Regions from separate parts of the Homo sapiens genome. Here all the other regions are linked to region 5. The links are contacts of gene promoters, found by promoter capture Hi-C in blood cells and fetal thymus (Javierre and others, 2016). All regions are on one chromosome and are shown on one strand. The core of a region is centred on a gene start or on the middle of the fragment in contact, and the rest is flanking DNA. Distances in the headings are between cores, read along the strand shown. Region 1 has its middle 18 kb from the start of NDUFA8. Region 2 holds the start of LHX6 (LIM homeobox 6). Region 3 overlaps LHX6 (LIM homeobox 6). Region 4 overlaps MORN5 (MORN repeat containing 5). Region 5 holds the start of OR1K1 (olfactory receptor family 1 subfamily K member 1).

The links. Contacts are between HindIII fragments. The CHiCAGO score rates a contact against its expected background, and 5 or more counts as called.
Region 1: a fragment that was not itself captured here is called in contact with the fragment with the promoter of OR1K1 in region 5 in 2 of 17 cell types (non-activated CD4 T cells and activated CD4 T cells); the score reaches 6.2 in non-activated CD4 T cells.
Region 2: a contact is called between the fragment with the promoter of LHX6 here and the fragment with the promoter of OR1K1 in region 5, in 8 of 17 cell types (naive CD8 T cells, naive CD4 T cells, erythroblasts and 5 more). The highest score is 8.8, in naive CD8 T cells.
Region 3: a fragment that was not itself captured here is called in contact with the fragment with the promoter of OR1K1 in region 5 in 1 of 17 cell types (erythroblasts); the score reaches 5.1 in erythroblasts.
Region 4: a contact is called between a fragment that was not itself captured here and the fragment with the promoter of OR1K1 in region 5, in 2 of 17 cell types (total CD8 T cells and M1 macrophages). The highest score is 5.4, in total CD8 T cells.

Annotation. Positions count from the first base shown.
Region 1 is chr9:122,140,367-122,143,066 of GRCh38, forward strand. It overlaps a transcript of NDUFA8 not described here. Among named protein-coding and RNA genes, the nearest start is that of NDUFA8, 18 kb to the right of the region's middle. The HindIII fragment of the contact is 6,633 bases long and covers 1-2,700 here.
Region 2 is chr9:122,227,628-122,230,327 of GRCh38, forward strand. It overlaps LHX6 (LIM homeobox 6), which reads right to left and starts at 1,330. Exons shown (of 10, transcript NM_014368.5): 1 at 1,030-1,330. The coding sequence starts at 1,113. The HindIII fragment of the contact is 4,848 bases long and covers 1-2,700 here.
Region 3 is chr9:122,201,525-122,204,224 of GRCh38, forward strand. It overlaps LHX6 (LIM homeobox 6), which reads right to left. Exons shown (of 10, transcript NM_014368.5): 10 at 1,058-2,700. Among named protein-coding and RNA genes, the nearest start is that of LHX6, 26 kb to the right of the region's middle. The HindIII fragment of the contact is 1,128 bases long and covers 854-1,981 here.
Region 4 is chr9:122,171,735-122,174,434 of GRCh38, forward strand. The region is part of intron 3 of MORN5 (MORN repeat containing 5); the gene reads left to right. Among named protein-coding and RNA genes, the nearest start is that of MORN5, 13 kb to the left of the region's middle. The HindIII fragment of the contact is 3,137 bases long and covers 1-2,700 here.
Region 5 is chr9:122,798,816-122,801,515 of GRCh38, forward strand. It overlaps OR1K1 (olfactory receptor family 1 subfamily K member 1), which reads left to right and starts at 1,308. Exons shown (of 1, transcript NM_080859.1): 1 at 1,308-2,258. The coding sequence starts at 1,308. The coding sequence ends at 2,258. The HindIII fragment of the contact is 11,918 bases long and covers 1-2,700 here.

The DNA.
Region 1 (2,700 bases), core at 156-2,655, 660 kb before region 5:
GATCCATTTCAGGGCATAAAAAAAATCCTTTATTATATCCAAAGCATTTCAGCTAGGATTTGATATCTACAAAGATGGCAATGTAACCTCAAAGAGTTACTCGCATTTCTACCTACAAGTAATTTTTTGTTTGTGGTTTTACAGCACGTAAAGGGTTTGGAAGTCCTCTGGAAAGGTAAACTTCGTGTACAGTTAATCATTTCCTGGATGTTTGTCATATACTGGGCACTAGGATATAGAAATAGAAATAAGATAGAAGTCCAACTCTTGCAGCACTGAGAACAGGAGAGGTAAGACACAGCCAGGGTCACGACAGGTGTTACTCAAATACAGTCTTATAACAATGCTACCATTTATCAACCCTCTACTATGCATTTTGTGTGTGTAACTCACTATATACTCATAGCCATCCCAGAAGGCAGGTACTATTACTGTCATCTCCTTCCCCTTCTATTTTACAGATGAGGACTATAAGGTACAGAAAGGTTAAGTATCTTCTCTAGGGTCACACAGCCATTAAATGACCAGAGCCTGGATTCAAATCCAGACAGCCCAACTCTAGAGCCCTCATGCCCAACCATCATACTACATTGTGTCACGGGAACAAAGGGGCAGGAAAGACCATTTTTGGCTGTAGGAAGGGGATACTTCCTGGGAAAGACACCATTCGTGTTTGCCTTTAGAGATGGGTAGACTTTCAAGAGGCAGCTACGGGGAAGGACTGTTTCCTGGCAAGGGGATAGCATTCGTGAAGATCTAAAAATTCTTGATGAATAGCATGCTGTAGAGTATAGGCTACATAAGAAGAAGTAAGATAATGATGGGGAAATGGGCTAGGCTAGGGCCAGGTTATGGAGTGTCAGAATGCCAGTAAGGATTTGGGCTTTAGTTAGCAGCCATTCGTGAGCCCCTGAAGGCTTCTGAGTAGCAGAGGCACGTGGAGCAAACTTGAGGATGGACTGGAGAGGGAGATGGCAATGGGAGACCACTTAGGAAGTCATTTAATAATCCAGGCAAGGGGAACAAAAACAGCCTAGGAAAGTGACAGTGAGATAAAACAGGAAGTAGCAAATGAGAGCGATTACAGAAGAAACTCAACAGGACTTGATGTTGGATTGGAACTTGGAGTAAACCGAAGAGTCAAAGATGCATCTCAGGTTATTTGACACTGGGAGGATGGAGACACCATTAACTCAGATAGGGAAGACAGGAACAGGCTTGGCAGAGGAAAGGAGTCAGATAAATTTCCTTTGGGGATATAAGGAATTCATCTCATTATTCTCAAGCCAAACCACCAGGAAGATTTTCTATTATTTGAAGTCCTGTTCAGGAATCCTTCCCACTAACTGCTTTCCAATTGTTCTGTGACCTTTTACCTACTGAAATTGAGACAGGCACTTGTTGTGAGAGACTTAAGAAATTATTATATTTAATTACTTAGACTCTTCTGTCCTAGAAGGCTATGATGTCGTGTAATCCCATCGCGAGTACAGGAAAGCCAAAAGTCAGTTTCTTTGTTCAAGGAATTCAAAGCAAGGTGGGGAGGGGGGAGGCAAGAACTGCTGTCCAACTTGGGCAAAAGTTACATCCTAGAATTGAATTTGAAACCATTAACAGTTCAAGACGCGTTGCTCTGGTTCTAAAGAGGTGAATTAACATTTGGGGAGTGAACAGTGCTAGAAGTTGCAGCAGGTAAATTAGTCATAGATCCTTCTCAGAAAGACGGTATGGTTTATTCCCTCATTACCTGTGTGATCTATGGACCAGTGCCCTTAGCACCAAGAAACAGCTTATTAGAAATCTCAGGACCTACCGCAGACCTACTGAATCAAAATCATTTTACTAGGATCTCCATATACACCCATTTATTTTGAGAGTAGGGGCTTTGGAATCAGATGTATCTGGGTTTAAATCTCAGCTTAGCCACTTACTACTTACTAGCAGGTAGCCTCCTGTACTTGCTTCCTCATGTCTAAAATCAGTATGTCGTTCTACACCTTGGCTTCACATCGGAATAGGCTGGGAGTGCTTTCAAAAATTCCAAGCCCAGGCCACACTACACACCAATTACAACAGAATCTCTGCGGGTAGGATCCAAACATCAGGATTTAAAGGCCTCTCAGGTGATTCCAATGTGCACTCAAAGCTGAGAACCACGCATGGCTTTGAAGAATAGGAGTGTGGCCATTGGAACCAGACAATCTTTACTTGTATCCTGTATCTACCACTTCTTATATATGAGACTGGGGCTTCTTAACCTCTCGCTAAACTTTAACTTCCTTCATCTGTAAAATGAATATGACCTGTAGTACCTCGTTCAAAGGACTCTGGGCATTGAAGGAGGTGAAACATGTAAAGCACTTAGCACAGTGCACAATATTATTATTTATGCAAGGCCCAGCTTCCTTTGCAGAAGGAACCTAGGAAGCAACATGTGGGTTGAAGTATCATATAAACACCAATCTGCAGCCATGCTCATACCTTACCCACCAGAGGGGAATTCCAATTACTTGGCCACCAAAACGTTAGTGGGTTTTGCCTCAGCTATTGAAAAAAATGCAAAAAAAAGTCTTATTTTTCATTAGAGAATCTGAGGCAAAAGTTGGTTGGCAAGTAACTTTTGCAGAACACGTGGGGGTTCTGCTGGAAGCATCCAAAATGCTTCCGGATGTGGGGTCAGCACCAGGTGCAGAAGCGGCC
Region 2 (2,700 bases), core at 80-2,579, 570 kb before region 5:
CACAAAAGCGGTGTCTCTCTAATGAAGCAATTTGAATTTGGATTGGATTTTTTCCCTCTCTCTCCCCCTCTCCCTGCACTTAACCCGTGGCTCTTGAAGTAATCGCTTAGTTCCCTTGCAATCCAAGCCTCTGAGGGGGGAAGAAAAACACGCGCACACACACACAAACTACCTGCAATTAGAAATTGTCGTGAATGCCCAAGATAAGAGGTAGCCAGAGTGTCAATTCCAACTGTCAATCAGTGAGATCCATCAGGCCGCCCAAAGAATTGCAAATTTGATTTTTTAATGGTAGTAATTAAAAATCGAATTTTTTCTCTCTCCACCCGCCCCCCCACCCCACTCCCCTTCCTCGCTCCCTTCTCCTCTCGGCACAAAATGCAAAAAGGAGAAAAGAGAGAAAGAAAGAAAATAAAAAAGAGATGGGTGAGGGGCGGAGGGTGGTTGAAGAAAAGAAAACCCCGAGCGCGGTGAGCACCCGCCCGCCCGCCCGCCTGACACGCGCGGCGAAATTGAAGCAGCTATATTGACACGGATTCAGGCGCCTTTCGAGGGCCAGTCGGAGGGAAACCCGGAGCAAAAAGAGAGCGAGATCGGGGCGAAACGGGACCAAAAAGAGAAAAGAGAGGCGCTCAAGGGGAGGAAAAAGCACCCTCCAGCCCCTCGGCGCGCCGGGTACCGGCCCCGCGTCGGGATTCTCAGCGCTGCGCCGGCACAACCCCCGGCGCATCGGCGCTATCAGCGCCTATTCAGACGGACAATACCGGCCTCGCCTCCTCTTGATTCGCCTGTGTCTTTACTAAATCGCTTTTTGAGAAATTCCTCCAACATTTGCATAATGTGTTCCCGCTTTCCGCGACCCCCCCCCCCCGCTCGCGCGCGCGCTCCCACACTCACAAGCACACACTCACAGGCGCACCCTCGTACCCCTCCTTCCTGCAACCGCCCGCCACCCTGCTCGGCCCGGCTGGGTCCCGGACCCTGCCCGACCCCGGCCCGGGCCGCTCACCCAGTCGTTCGCCGGCTCACCTGGTCGGTGGCGGGGCCGCCCTCGGCCGGCAGCCGGCAGCCCTCGGGCAACGCCGGGGCGGCGTTCTCATGCTTCCAGTACATGGGCCGGGGAACCTCGGGCTCAGCGGGCGCGCAGCGCGGAGAGCTGCGCCGAGGGGGACCACAGCCGCAGTGGGAGCAGAGGCTGCTGCAGGAGCAGGAGGAGAGCCGAGGCGCCGGCCCCGCCGCCCCGGGCCCGGCCTCAGCCCCCGCCCCCGGCCCGCGCGCAGCCCCGGCCTCCCTGGCTGCTGCCGCCGCTGCCTCGGAAGAAGGTCCCGACAAACTTGGAGAGGCCCCCGCCCCCTCCTTCTTCTCCTCCTCCCCCTCTTGGTAGTCCTCCTCCTCCTCTCCCTCCTCCTTGTCCTCCTCCCCCTCCAGCTGCAACGGCGGCCGCCCTGCCGCTGGAGCCCCGCTCGGTTCAAGATGAGTCATGCGTGACCAATCCCCTCCCCGCCAAGGGAGAGCAAGACACACACGACGAGGCAGAGACCCAGAGAGAGAGACACACACACAGACACAGAGACACACAGAAACTCAGAGCTGCCGACAGAGAGACTCGGAGACACGCCAGTACACAAAGGCACCGGCGGGCACACATCCACCCAGCTCTCACTACCGCTCCTCCCTCAAGGGGCACCCATCTTCCTCAGACACTGCCCCACTCACAGGTACAGGAGGGACCCATGGCCATACCATCTGCGGAGATAGATTCCGTAGGAGGTCACACGTTATTACACTGTGTTGATGCAATCCCATGCCTGGTACATTTGTGTACACACTAATGTAAGTGATTACCTGTTCACATCATTTACACGGGCACGAGGCACCACACTTACTCTCACACACCTGCACAGATACCTCTGCTCTATAAGAACCAGACAGTGCACCAGCTCCCAGGGACTGAGGTGAAACGGGAGGGTAGTTTCCCTGAATTCTCTTGGAAGGGATTGCTTGGCACATTCCCCTTCCCTTCAGGATTTGCTTAACCACACAGTCCAATGCCCATCCCTTCTTCTCTAGGGTTCTACTGACAATGAGAATGGTAGGGAAGGCAGGAAGGCCCAGGCATTTAGACAGAAGACACTGCCCCCAGACACACAGACACAGAACCTTCAAACCCAAAGATGGAGCCTTACACACACTAACGCCCTGCAGCATACACAAGTGGACACTTAGAGTCTCAGCCCCCTTCTCCACACACAAACTGAGCCTAAAGAGACACATGTAAACATACATCATCTAAAAACAAATAAGCACACTCAGACATAGATCCAGCCCTACAGACACCATGACAGCCTACCCTCACCACATCACACATGTCATCACCTCCATAATTGCCCTCATTTACAGATGTAAACACCCCCCCACACACAATTGTTCTTCCATTTGTACACACAGCCATACTCAAGAGGGCACAGATTTTCACAGAGCTCCAAACCCATGTATAACCTTATGTCCTCTACTCAGGCACCCTCAAATATGTACTTACATCCTTACAGATGGTGAGACAACTATTGATAGGCATTTATAGGCAGACACATCACACACACTTCTGCAGCCATAGATTCCCAATAGTTATAGTCTCAGTTTGCACACACACAGGCAGGTTCTGACAGGCGCAGGTAGTAGAGGATGCCTGCACACCAACAC
Region 3 (2,700 bases), core at 168-2,667, 600 kb before region 5:
GCTGCGCTAGGGAGCAGACTTGGGAGGATCACCTCTCCCCAAGACGCCAGTCACCTTGGTAGATAGGGTTGTGCTCCACCGGTGGTTTCCAAACTGTATTTTGAAAACAGAAGGTACATTCATGTAAAGAAACACACAACTAAACTCATATATTTTCAAAGATACACATATATCTAAACACTTGAAAATGGATTGGAAGAGCAGATGTATGAGGAGCAGAAATGGAATCAGGGATGGGAGATTTAAAAACTAGTAGAATAGAGAGAGGGGCCCTGCAGTCAGTGACTCATGTGCACCATGAGCTGAGGTTTCTGAGCAACTCATTTCTGTGCAGGGCCACAGCAGGCCAGGGAAGCCTCTGCATTCTGCAGGGCAGCTGTGCTCTCCACACCAGGAGCTTTGGCTTGAGCAAATGACTCTGCTGCTGAAAGAAATTTGACAACCACCAAAAAGATGCGCTCTCTCACTCCTCAGGTTATGAGGTGGTGGCTCTGGAGCCTGACAAAACCACTATAAGACCCAGTCTTGTGCAGAACCTGGGGCCCTGCTGCCCGTTCCATATTCCCTTAACTTCACCTTATTAAATTCTTCCCCATCTTCCAAACACGCTCCTCTGCACCTCCCTCCCTGCCCCACCCTCTTGCTTACCTATTCTGTGACCTTCTCATCTGATAGGATCCAGCTTTAACACCCACCCCCTTGGCTCCCACAGTATTTGCCAGACTGAGAGCTCCTCCAGGACAAGGTCTGGCTGGGAGCCTTTTCTCAGTGTGCAGAGCCAGCACAGGGCCCAGCAGAGAGTGTATGTTCAGAGACTGGAACAGAGGGCATCAAGCAGCCTGATTTCCTCCAAAGCTTAGATAAGAAGCAGGTGTGACTGAGTACTTACAGAAGAAACCCATCGTCAGGCCTCCACAATCCATTGTTTACTAACTGGGAAATGGTACCCGTTTCCCAGGAAGGAGGATTACACTGTCCAGCAGCCCACATATTCTGGGAGCCAGGGACCTAAGCCCTTCACCAGAGAGCAGGAAAGAAATGGAATCCCATCATGTTCTGGATTTCAGTGCCAGCACTTCTACTTGCATTAACTTTATTACACAAATAAGACATTTACAAAGCACGACATGAAAGGTATGTAACAAAACAGACATTGGTTTTACAAAAAAAGTGCTTACAATTTTTTTTCCGTGTGTGTGTTTTCCCCTTTTTTTGTATTTAAATAAATAGTCTTGATGGCCTGTACGTTCCCAGGCTGCTCTTAACAGGGTAGTGGAGACATGTTTGAACTGTAACATGCTACGGCCACATAATCCACGCAAGGAATAGACCCTGAGGAGAGGCTCAAGGCAGAGTGTGTTGGGTGACCCTGGGTAGGGCTTGGTTGGCCACTTACCACATGGTTGCCACTGGGGCCTTGATGATCAGGAGCAAAAATCAAAGGAAAGATTTGAGCTCCAAGGCCAGGAATTGGGCCCTGGTTGCTCCTGTTAATGTCAGCGCCTAGCACAGGGCTGGGCACAAGTTACCACTGACTGAGTGCTGAGCTGAGCTGTACTCACCACGTTCTGAGTGGTGCCTGCTCTTTGCCCTCAGTCAGCTGTCACTGTCTTTGGAAGGGAGAGGAAGCAGGTTCCCTTCTTAGGCTGCACCTGTGCCTACCCTGCCTGTAGATCCCAGAGCAAGAATGACCTATAGGCTTTCATGTTAAGTGCCAACGTCAAGCATTTGAACTCTGAAACCTTATCCAGACTCAGTGAAATAGAGCTGCCATTGATTAGCAATGTCTGCCATGGGTAAAAACAGAGACAATGGCTGCGTATGTACCATGAACTTGCTTTCCCTGTCTTAGAGTCTCCTTCCAAAAGCAACATAACAGGTTAACCACAGCAGGAAGGCGGACTTGGGCTAAAACATGCTGATTAGCAACCTCTAGTGGAAAATGCATCAGGACACCAGGTAATTCTAGAATTACAGGATAAGCTTGGGACAAATGGGCATCCCCTGAAAACATAAATCATGGTCGTGTGTAGCCTGAGCCCTTTTGTTTGGGGTGGAAGAGTTGTAGCAGGATGGATGTTACGCAGCTGTGTCTGACCTCTGTTCTCAGGGGTGGGTGGGGCTGGCTCCAGGAAGTATTGATTGGGAAGCTCAGAGGCACCAGTTGGAATCCTGAGCTTGGCACACTCACCTAGGCAATGGGCACCCTCTCTCTACTTAGAGATGGATCCAGGGTTAACATTCTGACTGCCATTTCACTGGGCTCTGTTCCCTCTCCCCTATAAGGGATTCCCCTTCCATTGAGAAGACCTGGCCCAAGCACCACTATGAGAGGTCAACAAGTGGCCAACAGGGGTCCCCAACTCTAACCTGTCCAAACATTCAGAAGAGTCATGGCACAGATCGAATACCATCGCTGCTATGTTTCTTACATATATGCTGGATAATTAGGTGGGGGTAGGGTCTCTCCCTGACCCCAGAGTTTTCTCTTTCCTCTCCTTAAAATGGCTAGTGCCTCTTCTGGTCCAATATGTCACCGCCCTCTCCTTGATTTCCAAACCAATGGGGGTCTTTCTTCTCCCCATTCCCTGTCTATCCCCGCTGCCTCCTAGTCTGGGCAGGCCTCCATCTCTGCCCTATTAGGCCTCTCAGGGTTGGTCACTGTCTCTTCTCTTTCTGAATTAACTTGACATAACCAGA
Region 4 (2,700 bases), core at 173-2,672, 630 kb before region 5:
GGTCCTATGGATTTTACCTCTGAAATATAGACTTTATTTGTTTATTCAACAAATATTTATTGAGCACTTCCATGTGCCAGGCAGCATTCTCTTCATACTCTTTGCCACTGCCCTGTTCCAGCCCTCCATCATCTTTCCCCTTGATGACCTGACTCCGGAGATCCCCACTTGGCGCCCTTGAGGTCATTCTCCATTCTGCAGTCACTTCCATCTTTTTTTTTTTTTTTTTTTTTTTTTTGAGACAGAGTCTTGCTCTGTTGCCCAGGCTGGAGTGCAGTGGTATGATCATAGCTCACTGTAACTTTGAACTCCTGGGCTCAAGCGATCCTCCTGCCAAGTGATCTGGCCTCCTAAGTAGCTGGAACTACAGGAATGCGCCACCACTCCTGGTTAATTTTTTTTTTTTTTTTAAGTTTCTTGTAGAGATGGGTGTTGCCATGTTGCCCAGGCTCATCTAGAACTCCTGGCCTCAAGCAACCTTCCCTCCTTAACTTGGGATTACAGGCGTGAGCCACCATGCCCGGCCGCTTACATCTTTTAAAGTGTGAATCTGATTGCCTCCCTCCCGCCCCGCCCCTTGAGTGCTCCCTATACCCTCAAGATAAGGTTTCAAATTCTCAGAAACAGTGACATTCTCTGGCTCCTGCTCATGTCCCAGCCTCATCCTAGGCTACCCACCCTTCTCGGTTTTTCTCTCTCCCCTCTTGCGATACTTGCTTTCTTTCTGTTTCTCAAAGAGACCACACTTTTTCCTGCCATTCTCTCTGCCTGGAATACTTTAACCCTCTTACTTCACCCAAATAACTCCTTCCCGTACTTCAGTTCTCAGCTCAACGTCCTGAAGCTGGGAGCCCCTTCCCTGAATTCCCACACTAGGTAAGGTCTCCCTGTGGCATATCACAGCAGCCATGACCTCCTCCCAGGGCTTGGATCGTGAGTGTTCAGCTCGTCTTCCCAAGCTGTGAGCAACATGAGGGCAGGGCCCTAGCACATTGTCTGGCATACAGTGGGTACTCGTTAAAGAGTTATTGTCAAACAGGGATAATGATACTGACATCACAGTGCAGGGTGAAGTATGTGCTTAGGGGAGTTAAGGCAATGACATTAAGAAATATTTCCTAAGCTCCTACTGTATGTCAGACGCTGGCTGGACCCAGGGAGACCAGAGTTAAGAGGACATCATCTCTCCCTTCAAAGAGCTGCCAGTCTAGCTGCAGCTTGAGAACCTTGCAAATCACTCCTCCCGAATTAGTTATGATGGGAGGCCTGGACTTTGCCATGGGCTCTTCACCCCAATTAAGGCTGTAGGCAAAAAGCCCTCAGCCTTAAGCCTTAGCTCTCACACAATGGCTGGTTATGCTAAAGCTAAGCCTCTGCCAGTCTCGTGGTGGCATTTCCCGAACCTGCCTGGCTCTCCCCGAACATGCCTGGCTCTCCCCTACTTCTCCTGTGACCCTCAGAAGAGCAGCTTGATTCTAAGTAGCTACTTCCTTCCCTTGTCACTCCACACTTTGCCTCTTGGGGCTGGCATTGTTAGGGCAACTCGCCCTGCCTGCAAGGCAGGGTGAGGGTTAAAAGTGCCCCGCGACCTCTTCGAGCATCTGTGAGATGGGCATTGGCATGAGGCTTTGGTGAGAGAATGGCTGTAAAGTGCTTGACATGGAGTAAGTGCTCAGTAGTCATTAGCCAGTACATATGGGGTTAGGTTTAGGATCAGGGTCAGTGTCAGGGTTACGGTTAGGTATGTCATTAAGCAACACAAGAGTACCTACTGTGTGCAAGACACTGAGTTGTGGGCATGGTGCTGTGTGCTCAGTGGGCATCCAGCTCTCAGTCTAGAGAACAAGGAATTACAGGAACTATAGTTAGAAGGAACCTGAGAAGTTATTTATTCCAACCTCTCCCTTTACTTGAGCCATGGCGTTTCAAGATACACATACCTAGCGTGCATGACCTAAAAGGTGCACTCAATCTTCTTTCTCTCCCAGAGGTCTCAGTGTCCCTGGTCCTGTGGCTGCACCTAGGCTGTCTCCTCCCCTGATGTTGGCAGCTGAACATACAGGTTCCAGAGCTGGACTGCTTCCTAGCTGGATAACCTTGGGAAAGTTACTTTAACTTCTCTGAGCCTCAGTTTTCTTATCTGTAAAATGGAGCCACAGAGCTGCTCTCAGGATTAAATAAAAGAGGAGCACAATGCCTGGCACATAATAAACATTCAATGAGTGGCAGCCACCGTGGTAATTTTGGCAAGAGTCAAAGTTCTCCACCACCTGCCCCTTGTCCACCTGATCCATTTCTTTTCTGCTGTTCTCCTTCATACGTGCTCTGCTCTACAAGGTTTCCAGAGTGGGGCTTAAGGATCCATGCCTCTGGCCTCTGCCCACGCTTTGAATGCCACCCCTCTTCTGGATCTGATGCTCTCCTATCCATTTGCCAACTCTGACTTACCCTCAGGGTCTGTCTAACTTCAGAACCTGTGCCCTTTGTCATGGTATCCGAAGAAATGGAGGAGGATGGGGTCAAAGGAAGAAGAAGACAGAGGGTCTCGTTCCCAAGACCCTGTTCCCAAGAGCCATGTTCAGAAAGTTCCTTTGGGGCACCGTTTCTGCTGGGTTTGCTTCTTGCCCTGAGTAGGGGGTATTTAGTTCAACAGGGGAGCCAGATAGTCACATGAGCCACCAGCCACAAGTGGACCTTATG
Region 5 (2,700 bases), core at 58-2,557:
TCTTGGCTCACTGCAACCTCTGCCTCCTGGGTTCAAGATATTCTCCTGCCCCAGCCTCCCAAGTAGCTGGGATTACAGGCACGTGACACCACACCTGGCTAATTTTTGTATTTTTTTTTTTAGTAGAGATGGGGTTTCACCACATTGGCCAGGCTGGTCTCAAACTCCTGACCTCAGGTGATCCTCCTACCTTGGCCTCCCAAAGTGCTGGGATTACAGGCACGAGCCACTGCACCCGGCCTTGTTTTGTGTTTTAAGTCTGAAAATATCTGTATTCTTTACTCACACTTGAGTAGTATTTTTGCTGAGTGAAGAATTCCAAGTTCGAAATGCTTTTTTTCAGAATTTGAATATTGTTAAACTGTTCTATAATCTACTGTTGAATTGAAACATTTGATGGCAATCTAATTACATGGATATCATCAGTTCATTGCACCCCATGCCCTTAGGAAGTACTGGAGTCTCCTCTTCATTTCCAGTGTTCTAAAATTCCACTATTTGTGTCTAGGTGTTGTGAGTTCATATTCATTTCAATGTAAACATATGTGCTCTTCAGATTTTTTTTCTAGAGTTTCTTTCTTATGTTTCTCTCCTCCATCTTGGTTTGGTTTCATTTTTTCTTTTCCAAAATAAATGTCCATTGGCCAGATCTTTCTGTGTCGAACCTCACTCTGTTTCATCTTTTCTTTCATATTTTCCTCCTTCCCTGATCTACATCTTGTGCAATATCTTTTGTTCTATTTTTGCTTAAATCACAAACTATCAAAGTTGGACGTGACCTTGCAGATGAGTTACTTCAATTCTCTTATTTCGCAGGTTGAAAGTCTAAGGCCCCACAAGGTCAGGAGATCGAGAACATCCTGGCTAACACGGTGAAACCCCGTCTCTACTAAAAAATACAAAAAAAATTAGCCGGGCGTGATGGCGGGCGCCTGTAGTCCCAGCTACTCGGGAGGCTGAGGCAGGAGAATGGCGTGAACCCAGGAGGTGGAGCTTGCAGTGAGCTGAGATCGTGCCACTGCACTCCAGCCTGGGCGACAGAGCAAGACTCCATCTCAAAAAAAAAAAAAAAAAAAGAAAAGAAAATCTAAGGCCCAGAAAGGAAGAAGGTTCAGGGAGGTGAAATGACTTGCCCATAGTCATACCTGTGCCTAGGGCCAGGGCTACCTGACTCTAAACTCTTGATATTTTCCCATGGCCAGGAAGCCTTGAACAATTTATCCCCTCACCTTTTCCGTTAGACATCGGGGAGGTGACCCATCAATAGAAAGGAGCCCTTCAGGTTCCAGGCGAATAACCAGCCTGCCATGGAGGCTGCCAATGAGTCTTCAGAGGGAATCTCATTCGTTTTATTGGGACTGACAACAAGTCCTGGACAGCAGCGGCCTCTCTTTGTGCTGTTCTTGCTCTTGTATGTGGCCAGCCTCCTGGGTAATGGACTCATTGTGGCTGCCATCCAGGCCAGTCCAGCCCTTCATGCACCCATGTACTTCCTGCTGGCCCACCTGTCCTTTGCTGACCTCTGCTTCGCCTCCGTCACTGTGCCCAAGATGTTGGCCAACTTGTTGGCCCATGACCACTCCATCTCGCTGGCTGGCTGCCTGACCCAAATGTACTTCTTCTTTGCCCTGGGGGTAACTGATAGCTGTCTTCTGGCGGCCATGGCCTATGACTGCTACGTGGCCATCCGGCACCCCCTCCCCTATGCCACGAGGATGTCCCGGGCCATGTGCGCAGCCCTGGTGGGAATGGCATGGCTGGTGTCCCACGTCCACTCCCTCCTGTATATCCTGCTCATGGCTCGCTTGTCCTTCTGTGCTTCCCACCAAGTGCCCCACTTCTTCTGTGACCACCAGCCTCTCTTAAGGCTCTCGTGCTCTGACACCCACCACATCCAGCTGCTCATCTTCACCGAGGGCGCCGCAGTGGTGGTCACTCCCTTCCTGCTCATCCTCGCCTCCTATGGGGCCATCGCAGCTGCCGTGCTCCAGCTGCCCTCAGCCTCTGGGAGGCTCCGGGCTGTGTCCACCTGTGGCTCCCACCTGGCTGTGGTGAGCCTCTTCTATGGGACAGTCATTGCAGTCTACTTCCAGGCCACATCCCGACGCGAGGCAGAGTGGGGCCGTGTGGCCACTGTCATGTACACTGTAGTCACCCCCATGCTGAACCCCATCATCTACAGCCTCTGGAATCGCGATGTACAGGGGGCACTCCGAGCCCTTCTCATTGGGCGAAGGATCTCAGCTAGTGACTCCTGAGGGCAGGACCCCACTGAGGACAGACTGCATCACCCACACTGGCAACTGTTGAACGTGACCCTCTGTCCTCTGCTATGCTCAAAAATCATAACAGCTGTCATTTCCTGAGCACCTGCCCGGAAGCAGATCCTTGCCTGATCTCATTTTATTCCCACAGCCACCCAGGATGCAGATATTATGATCCGGTTTTACACACAAGAAAATTTGTCTTTAGGCTCAAAGATAAGAAGTGACTTTCCAGCCAGGCACAGCGGCTCACGCCTGTAATCCCAGCACTTTGAGAAGCCGAGGTGGTGGATCACCTGAGGTCGAGAGTTCAAGATCAGCCTGGCCAACATGGCGAAACCCTGTCTCTATTACAAATACCAAAATTAGCCAAGCATGGCGGCGCACAACTGTAATCCCATCTACTCGGGAGACTGAGGCAAGAGAATCACTTGAA